Regions from separate parts of the Homo sapiens genome. Here regions 1 and 3 are each linked to region 2. Evidence: promoter capture Hi-C in 16 types of primary human blood cells and fetal thymus (Javierre and others, 2016). All regions are on one chromosome and are shown on one strand. The core of a region is centred on a gene start or on the middle of the fragment in contact, and the rest is flanking DNA. Distances in the headings are between cores, read along the strand shown.

Region 1 (2,700 bases), core at 55-2,554, 240 kb before region 2:
ACATTCTATGAAAAATGCTTCCCCCCAAAAAGGGCATGGAGAAAGATACTCAAGGATATATGTTTATTTTGTTAATTGTGTTTGAATATCTGAGAAGAAAAAGAATAAAGCACTTAGCTTGCAACAAAAATAGAGGAAACTCATAGGAGAGAAAATACAGGAAATCCTGGCAACTTCCTTGAGCCTATTATGTGGGGAGGAACCAGAACAATCAGTGGGATAGGCAGAGACATTGGGGAGGAAATTCTCTGTGGAGGTTTCAGTCACTTTTCACATTAGAACACAATGGATGAGTCCAAAGTGCTGCAGAATTATATATCTGGTATAAAACATTACTATTTTTTTTGTTGTTGTTATAGGAATAGTAGTAGTAGTAATTTGCCTCCCCACTGGTTCATAAAGATCTAGCTATATGCATGTTCTTTAAATGTTTGGAATAATCCAGAGATGCTCTCAATGAAGTTCACACATCTCTATTGAAAAACTAATATAAGTTGCTTTATAAATATCCTATATACAGATTAAGCTGAAATATTGCTATTACCAAAATAATTCACAATGATAACTTGGAAATTATATTTTAATACTGTCATACTGCCAAATGTTTCAGAATGAGTCTTATTTAATCTGAATTCAATGAATATTTATTGAACACATATTTTGTACCAGGTATTGTGATATATGCTAGCAATTAAACAAAAAGCAAACAAGCAAAAAACCCAACCCTTTTCCCCATATTAGTAAGCACAATCTTTGTCCTCATGGAACTTAAAGTATCATTATTTTGATGTAGTATTTTACTCTAGTGAATAGGATTTGTTATACAAAGTACTGAATTTTAATAGTTAACGATAATCTATATTTGGAAAGTTTATTTTACCTTGTGGAATGGAGGTTGACAAACTGTGGCCCAAGATCATATCAACCTGCCACCTTTTTTTTTATATAAATAAAATTGTATTGGAACACAGCCACGCTCAGTTGTTTACATATTACCTCTAGCTCCAACAGCAGTGTTGAGTCATTGCAATAGAGACACGTATGGCCTGCAAAGCTTAATGTTTTAACTATCTACCCCTTTACAGAAAAATTTTGGCAACTCCTATTATAGAAAATACATAAACATAGAATTGGTGCTAAAAATTTCATGGAGATTTAGTTTGTCAGGACACTTTTATTCTGTAAAAAAAGTTTTTTTTAAGGATACTGTTTGTAAAGATATTTTTTATGTGTAAAAATTACTGTTGCTTAGAGTACTGTTCAGTCAAAATCAAATAGCTGAGCAAATGTAGTTTCGGCAGACGCTATACCCTTCTTTATTTACTCACGTGGCACAGGGGACAACTCCATCTCCTTGAGACAAACAGGGTTCTTTTTCTTCAAATTCTGGACACTCCTTTTCACTGCCAATGGGAAACTGCCTGATGGTTCGTGTCCTTACACGAGTGCCTGCAGGGGACACCATGTCATGGCATGTTTTTGAGCAGGGGCTCCACTCTGACCACTCGGAAACCTGGCACTCTTTGGTGATCACACAGGACTGGAAGGTCATTGGAAGCTTCTCTTGCTGGCAAAAGCTGTAAAAGAGCATTGATATTCTCATTACAGACTCACAGGCAGTTATGAACTTTGTCTTCTACGCTCAAGAGTGAATCAGCTTGGGCATTTTTATTTCTACTTGGAGGTGTGATTCCAGTTTCATCGAAAATACATCAACATTTATGATGTGGAAAAGCAGTTAGACTCAAAGCTAACATTTGCATATTCTTCTGTTTTCTAAGAGTTGTTAAACCATTCATAGGAAATAGAAAATAAAGAGAATTAAGTAAAATTAGCTAAAGCTAAGTTTACCATACTGTTCATTTTACTCATTCCAGACTTGTTTTAACTTAGAAAATGAGAAACCAAGAACTGTTAACATATGCTAATTTCCATTCTGTTTAGGGAATCAAGTAAATATGCCTGCGTAAGTGTGATGGTTAATACTGAGTGTCAAATTGATTGGATTGAAGCATGCAAAGTATTGGTCCTGGGCATGTCTGTGAGGGTGTTGCCAAAGGAGATTAACATTTGAGTCACTGGCTGGGAAAGGCAGACCCACCCTTAATCTGAGTGGACACCATCTAATCAGCTGCCAATGCGGCTAGAATATAAAGCAATCAGAAAAACATGAAAAGAGTAGACTGGCCTAACCTCTCAACCTACATCTTTCTCCCGTGCTAGATGCTTCCTGCCCTCGAACATCAGACTCCAAGTTCTTCAGTTGTGGAACTCATACTGGCTCTCCTTGCTCCTCAGCTTGCAGATGGCCTATTGTGGGACCTTGTGATCATGTGAGATAATACTTAATAACTACACTTTATACATATATCTATCCTATCAGTTCTGTCCCTCTAGAGAACCCTGACTAAGACAGATTTTGGTACCAGGAGTGGTTCTACAGGAGCAGAATATTAAGGATGGAATTCTTTCATTGGTTTTGGGATTTCTGGAGTTGGCTGCTTAATATTAGACCCCAAAATGCTAAGGACTCTACTTCTAATAGTATGGAGAACACTCATAGTCCTTGGTGTGAACTGTTTAGGGAGTTATGCAAAATAAATGCATTTGACGCTCCTGATTCATTGCTTGTGAAGGCAAGGAGTTTAGAGACTCTATATATAACACCTTTGACCATATATGGAGAACCAAGAAACATAA
Region 2 (2,700 bases), core at 131-2,630:
CAACTACAACATTCTCTTAATGTTTGGCATGACCAAGTTATTCTTAAATTACCCCCTAGCTCTAAGCAACAGGAATAATCTTTTCCCATTTTATTCCTATGAACATGTGAAGTTTCAGGTCCCCTAAGGAATTCTCAATGTTTTTTTAATGCAGAGAGAAAGCGAACCCGCAGAAAAGGGGTTGGTAATTCCTCACTCCGTATTGTTTTCCTGCCTGTCACGGCCCCCGCCAGAAACTCCAAGCATTTTGCCAATGGGTAATGATGGGCAGTTAGTAGCTGCTTTTGTTGGGTGGTTGAAAAACAAAGCAAAACAATTCTCAAGGAAGGAAGAGAAAGTTTGAACCCAGACATCCTAAAAGTTGTACACTTTAAAAATCCTCCGACTCGCTAGTTAATAATTGAGTTTTCAGTCTTTCCCTGAAGGCTCACTGGAGCCCCATTTGCCTTTAATTGTTGGAACCGCCCTCACTTGGCTTGTTTCTGAGGTGTCCCACATATCACAAAGCTAAAGTTAACAAATTCAACTCTATATCCACAAATGTCATGACAGTGAGCATATTGCTTTGCCTAAAGAATAAAGACTGAGACTAAACTCTTTGCTTGTTCTTTGCTAGAAATCTGTTTGAGAAACTCCTAGTAGAATGAAAATCCAGGGGTTAAAAATAATGCACTTCATCATGGAAGTGCGCGTTGCCCTCATTACAGAGCTGCGAGAGAAATATTCCAGCTACTCACTGTTGCCTCTTAGTTGTTATGCTTTTCTTTCCTAATTGCATCGGACATGACCTATTTGCTTCCTAAGAAATCATACTTTTTACCTTAGGATACCAGCATAACCAAGCCATCCAAAAGCACCGGGGTCCCTACAGAAGCCCACCAGCTCCTTAATGTGGCCCCAGATGTGAAGATGGGGAAAGGGTAACTCCGTCCCACTTACCAGTCTTCCACAGATAGAGGGTGGGCGCCTCCGCCTCGCCCTGCGCCGCAGCCCTGCCGGCGCCCGGGCGTAGCAGCAGCAGCAGGAGCAGCGGCAGCGGCAGCGGCAGCGGCAGCAGCTGCAGGACGCCCCGGCGCGGCCCCGCAGCGCCCCGGCTCCCGGACGCCCAGCGCCTGGCTTGCAGCCCCATGCCGCCTGCAGCCACTCCAGGGTCCAGAGCCGTAGCACGCTCGGCAGGGAATTTTTCTCCGCTCTTGGAACGTCTTTTCAAAGAGTACAGAAAGCAAAGCTCTTTCCTGCTATTGTTCGCTTCAGATGAGAAGGAGGGAGAGCGCGTCTAACACCAGGGAACAATAGCGTCCGCGGTGGTGGCCGTGGCCGCTGCCGCCGCCGCCGCCGCCTCTGGCGGGGATGCTGCTGCCGCTGCCATTCCTCGCAGAATGGCAGGTCCCGGCGGCTCCGGAGGCAACTGTCCTCAGGGGGCCCCAGCTGACTGAGCAGGTCTGCTAGGTCTGGGAGGCAGCGCAGCCCCCGCCAGCTGGAGGGGGAGGAGGGGGGCGTGAGCCCAAAGGAGCAGAGGGGGCTGGAGGCAGAGGGAGGCGAGAGCGCGAGGGCGAGAAAGGGGGCGAGCAAAGGGGAGAGGGGCCAGCCAGGCGACACCCACCTCCGACATACCCGCCTAAAGAACTCCGGTGCACATGGTGCGATGAAATATGTTTGGAAGGATGCACCAATAAAAAGAATCATCACCCGGCAGATTTCAGAATGACAAATAACAGGCATTGATATTCACTGTCATCCAAGGAGTCAAATGCTAGATCTAGTGGCATGCTATTCTTAGTACGTATTTACACAAAGCATCAGTGTTTATTATCTATTTTTAAGCCATGGCTTCTGAATTACTTTGTGTGGGGAGCAGTATTTGAGATCAGGTGTGAAAACACGAGAGCAGAAATGTTGACTTGTCAAAATGCACTTAAACCCTTCTTTAAATGTTGTTTTTAACTTAATCTATTATCAATAAAAATATGAGCAATATTGATGCTCTGTGACAAATTAAATTGTCTTTTAATAGCCTTTAAAACTGAATTAGTGTTAATGAGTATTTGCAATGCTACCTAATTACATAAATACAATTGTACAAAAAAAAAACCCTTAAAATTAAAATTATATTTCAGGTATAGAGTTCTGTCCCTTCATCTACTTCTTTCCCTCAAAAATATGCTACTTCTAAGTATTCAGATAGTTGTGAGTCAAACTGAGTCAGTAATGCTGTCTGGATATCTTGGAATTAGTAAATTCTTCATTTAAAATTTCCCTGACACCGATTTTTCTTAACTCTTACTGTAGCAAAATGCCTGTCGCAATCTAAATAAGGAACCACATGTGTTTGCATCTTTTGTCCTTTGTGTTTTCACTTTCTTCTACCAGTAGTAATAGAAGAATGTGTGTGAAGTCGGATAATGCTTTCCCCTTTCTCCTTCTCCCTTTAGCTAATAATAATATATTTTATTATTAATTCATTTCACAGTAAAGCTAAAATAGTAGGCATTTAACCATTAAAAATTCAGCAAACGGAAAGCCAAAGAAAACTACTATCCCATCAGCAATTTTCAGCCAAATAAAATAAAATTTTAAAAGCAGGAAAACTACTTTTTATGAATTTACTCCAACATAGCTACCCTAGAGTTTAAGATGAGGAAGCTACTCTTTCTGAAAGAGGAAACCTTCCATAAGGCTCCCTTGGGACCCTTGTCATTT
Region 3 (2,700 bases), core at 29-2,528, 210 kb before region 2:
ATTTAAATGTTTTTATTTTAAAAATGTAATTATCATCTTATTATTCAAGGATAAACAGAAGAAAACTTGTGAATAAAGAGTATAAGCAATATTTAAAAACATATCACAGTGATGCTATATTTGTGCATTGCAAAATAGCTGTAAGTTGTATACACAAATATATCTGAGCATAATAGTCTAGGAACTAAGACTTCCTCAAACCAAAAGTAACATTTTATTTGGTTGGTCCATAGTACTTTGGCCCCTCTTGAATTGTTTTACCGGAACTATTATATAAGCTTATGTTCTCAACATTCATCAGAAACTGACAGGAAAAGTACAATACATGCATAACATACACACATGCATACACATTTTAAAGACAAATCATCTTTCATATTTTCTATTTGCTGCTCAGGTATATCAATCTAACTTTTGTTTTCAATTACTATAGCCCTCTTGCAAAAGTGCTCCTAAAACTTCATATATCTTCCTTCCTCTCATCTTACTAATTGCACGTATATTTGTATGTATGTATGTATGATTCATTCATTCACTCTTTCATTCATTCAGCTTTATTGTTGTAAATTACCTACAAATTCTTATTGGAAGTACAGAAATTTTAACTATATTACATGAATGCTAACGGAGACCTAGGATAGATAAATATATTTCTAATATTTTATTGTTGGCAAATAACACTAATACTTCACACTCTAGCATTCTACTTACACAGGTTATCAACAATCATCTATTCCTTTGTTGTTACGTTAGATTTACCTTTTATTAGATGTTAATATTAGATGTTAATGTCTTTGTAGGGACATGGATGAAGCTGGAAACCATCATTCTGAGCAATCTATCACAAGGACTATAGGCGGGAATTGAACAATGAGAACACTTGGACACAGGAAGGGGAACAACACACACTGGGGCCTGTCGTGGGGTAGGGAGAGGAGGGAGGGATAGCACTAGGATATATACCTAATGTAAATGACAAGTTAATGGGTGCAGCACACCAACATGGCACATGTATACATATGTAACAAACCTGCACGTTTTGCACATGTACCCTAGAACTTAAAGTATAACAATAAAAAAAAGAAAATGTCAAGTGTTACCACCTTTTGTGAAAGCATCTAGAAATATCTTTTAAAAATAAATTTGACCCAGTAATTCCCACACCTAGGAATATGTCCTACAGAAATTAAAATGCCAATTCATATGGACACTTATATGTGGCTATTTATTGTGGGCTTGATCATGGTAATCATAAAACAGAAATAAAATTAATGTCCAACAATAAAGAATTTAAGAAGAATGGATTAGAGCTATTCTGTATAACTTGGAGGGGTTTCTACAGGGTTTTATTTAGTCAAAAATAAGATGCAGATGTATATTGTATACACATGCATATTGTATACACACATATTGTATATACACGTAAGATGTATATTTTATATAATAGAAATCATTTTCTAAAAATGAGCAAGATAAATTGTGTGTATGTGTAAAATCAGTATGTGTAGGTTGATATGAATACACCTTATTAACATAACTTACACTCCATTGGGGAATGAGGATGTGCTTGATGTTTTAATATGATGTAAGAAGGAGAAGAATAGGGCGGGGCGCGGTGGCTCATGACTGCAATCCCAGCATCTTGGGAGGCCGAGGCGGGCGGATCACGAGGTCAGGAGACCAAGACACTGGCTAACACAGGTGAAACCCCGTCTCTACTAAAAATACAAAAAAATTAGCCGGGCGCCTGTAGTCCCAGCTACTTGGGACGCTGAGGCAGCAGAATGGCGTGAACCCGGGAGGCGGAGCTTGCAGTGAGCAGAGATCGCGCCAACACTGCACAGGAGCCTGGGAGACAGAGCGAGACTCTGACTCAAAAAGAAAAAAAAAAAAGAAGGAGAAGAATAAATTTAGTATTAATATACAATCCAATTTATGCACACATATGAATTTAGATATATAATGTAATGCATAATCACCTAAATGTTAATAGGGTTCAGAGTGGTAAGATTTTAGGTGGCTTTTATTTTTTCTTTATATTTTAATGAATCGTTCTCAATCCAAAGATAATAAAGATAGTAATACATAAAATTTAAATAATTAAAAAAGTCTATTTCCATTGTGTATAAAGAGTACGCAATGTTTAAAAACTTTTTTAAACATCATTATATTAGGCAATATTTATATCTAACCTAGAGGACACAAAGATAAAGAATTATCAGCAAATAAGAAATATAAAGAAACTGGTTACATTTGTTACTAAAATACACTGGATTTTCAAAGCTTTCAGATATAAATGTTAATGTGATTTTGTATATCAATGACTACAAGAAATGCCCAGATGTGATTTAACTATGATCTTTGTCTTTATCTAAGCATGAACAACTAGGTTTCCAAGATAAATCTTGATATGATTTATGTATTTTATCTAAACTTTTACATTAAAATAGCCACATGAATAAACAGTAATTTCTTTTCTTACTGTACTTTTTTTTTTTTTTTTTGCTTTAAGAGACTGCATCCTGCTCTGTTCCCCAGGCTGGACTCCTGCGGTGGAATCATAGTTCACTGCAGCCTCCAAACCCCAGGCTCAAGAAATCCTCCTGCCAAAGCCTCTGGAGTAGCTAGGACTACAGGCATGTGCTCCTATGCCCAACTAATTTTTTAAATTTTATTATTATTTTCTGTAGAGATAGAGGC

The links. The method cuts DNA at HindIII sites, captures the fragments that hold promoters and counts their contacts. A CHiCAGO score of 5 or more calls a contact.
Region 1: a contact is called between a fragment that was not itself captured here and the fragment with the promoter of THSD7A in region 2, in 1 of 17 cell types (endothelial precursors). The highest score is 5.3, in endothelial precursors.
Region 3: a fragment that was not itself captured here is called in contact with the fragment with the promoter of THSD7A in region 2 in 1 of 17 cell types (endothelial precursors); the score reaches 6.1 in endothelial precursors.

What each region holds. Positions count from the first base shown.
Region 1 is chr7:11,591,926-11,594,625 of GRCh38, forward strand. THSD7A (thrombospondin type 1 domain containing 7A) reads right to left here. Exons shown (of 28, transcript NM_015204.3): 3 at 1,329-1,577. Among named protein-coding and RNA genes, the nearest start is that of THSD7A, 240 kb to the right of the region's middle. The HindIII fragment of the contact is 504 bases long and covers 1,053-1,556 here.
Region 2 is chr7:11,830,818-11,833,517 of GRCh38, forward strand. It overlaps THSD7A (thrombospondin type 1 domain containing 7A), which reads right to left and starts at 1,381. Exons shown (of 28, transcript NM_015204.3): 1 at 940-1,381. The coding sequence starts at 1,129. RefSeq lists enhancers at 978-1,518, 1,519-2,058. The HindIII fragment of the contact is 6,451 bases long and covers 1-2,700 here.
Region 3 is chr7:11,616,916-11,619,615 of GRCh38, forward strand. The region is part of intron 2 of THSD7A (thrombospondin type 1 domain containing 7A); the gene reads right to left. Among named protein-coding and RNA genes, the nearest start is that of THSD7A, 210 kb to the right of the region's middle. The HindIII fragment of the contact is 2,005 bases long and covers 277-2,281 here.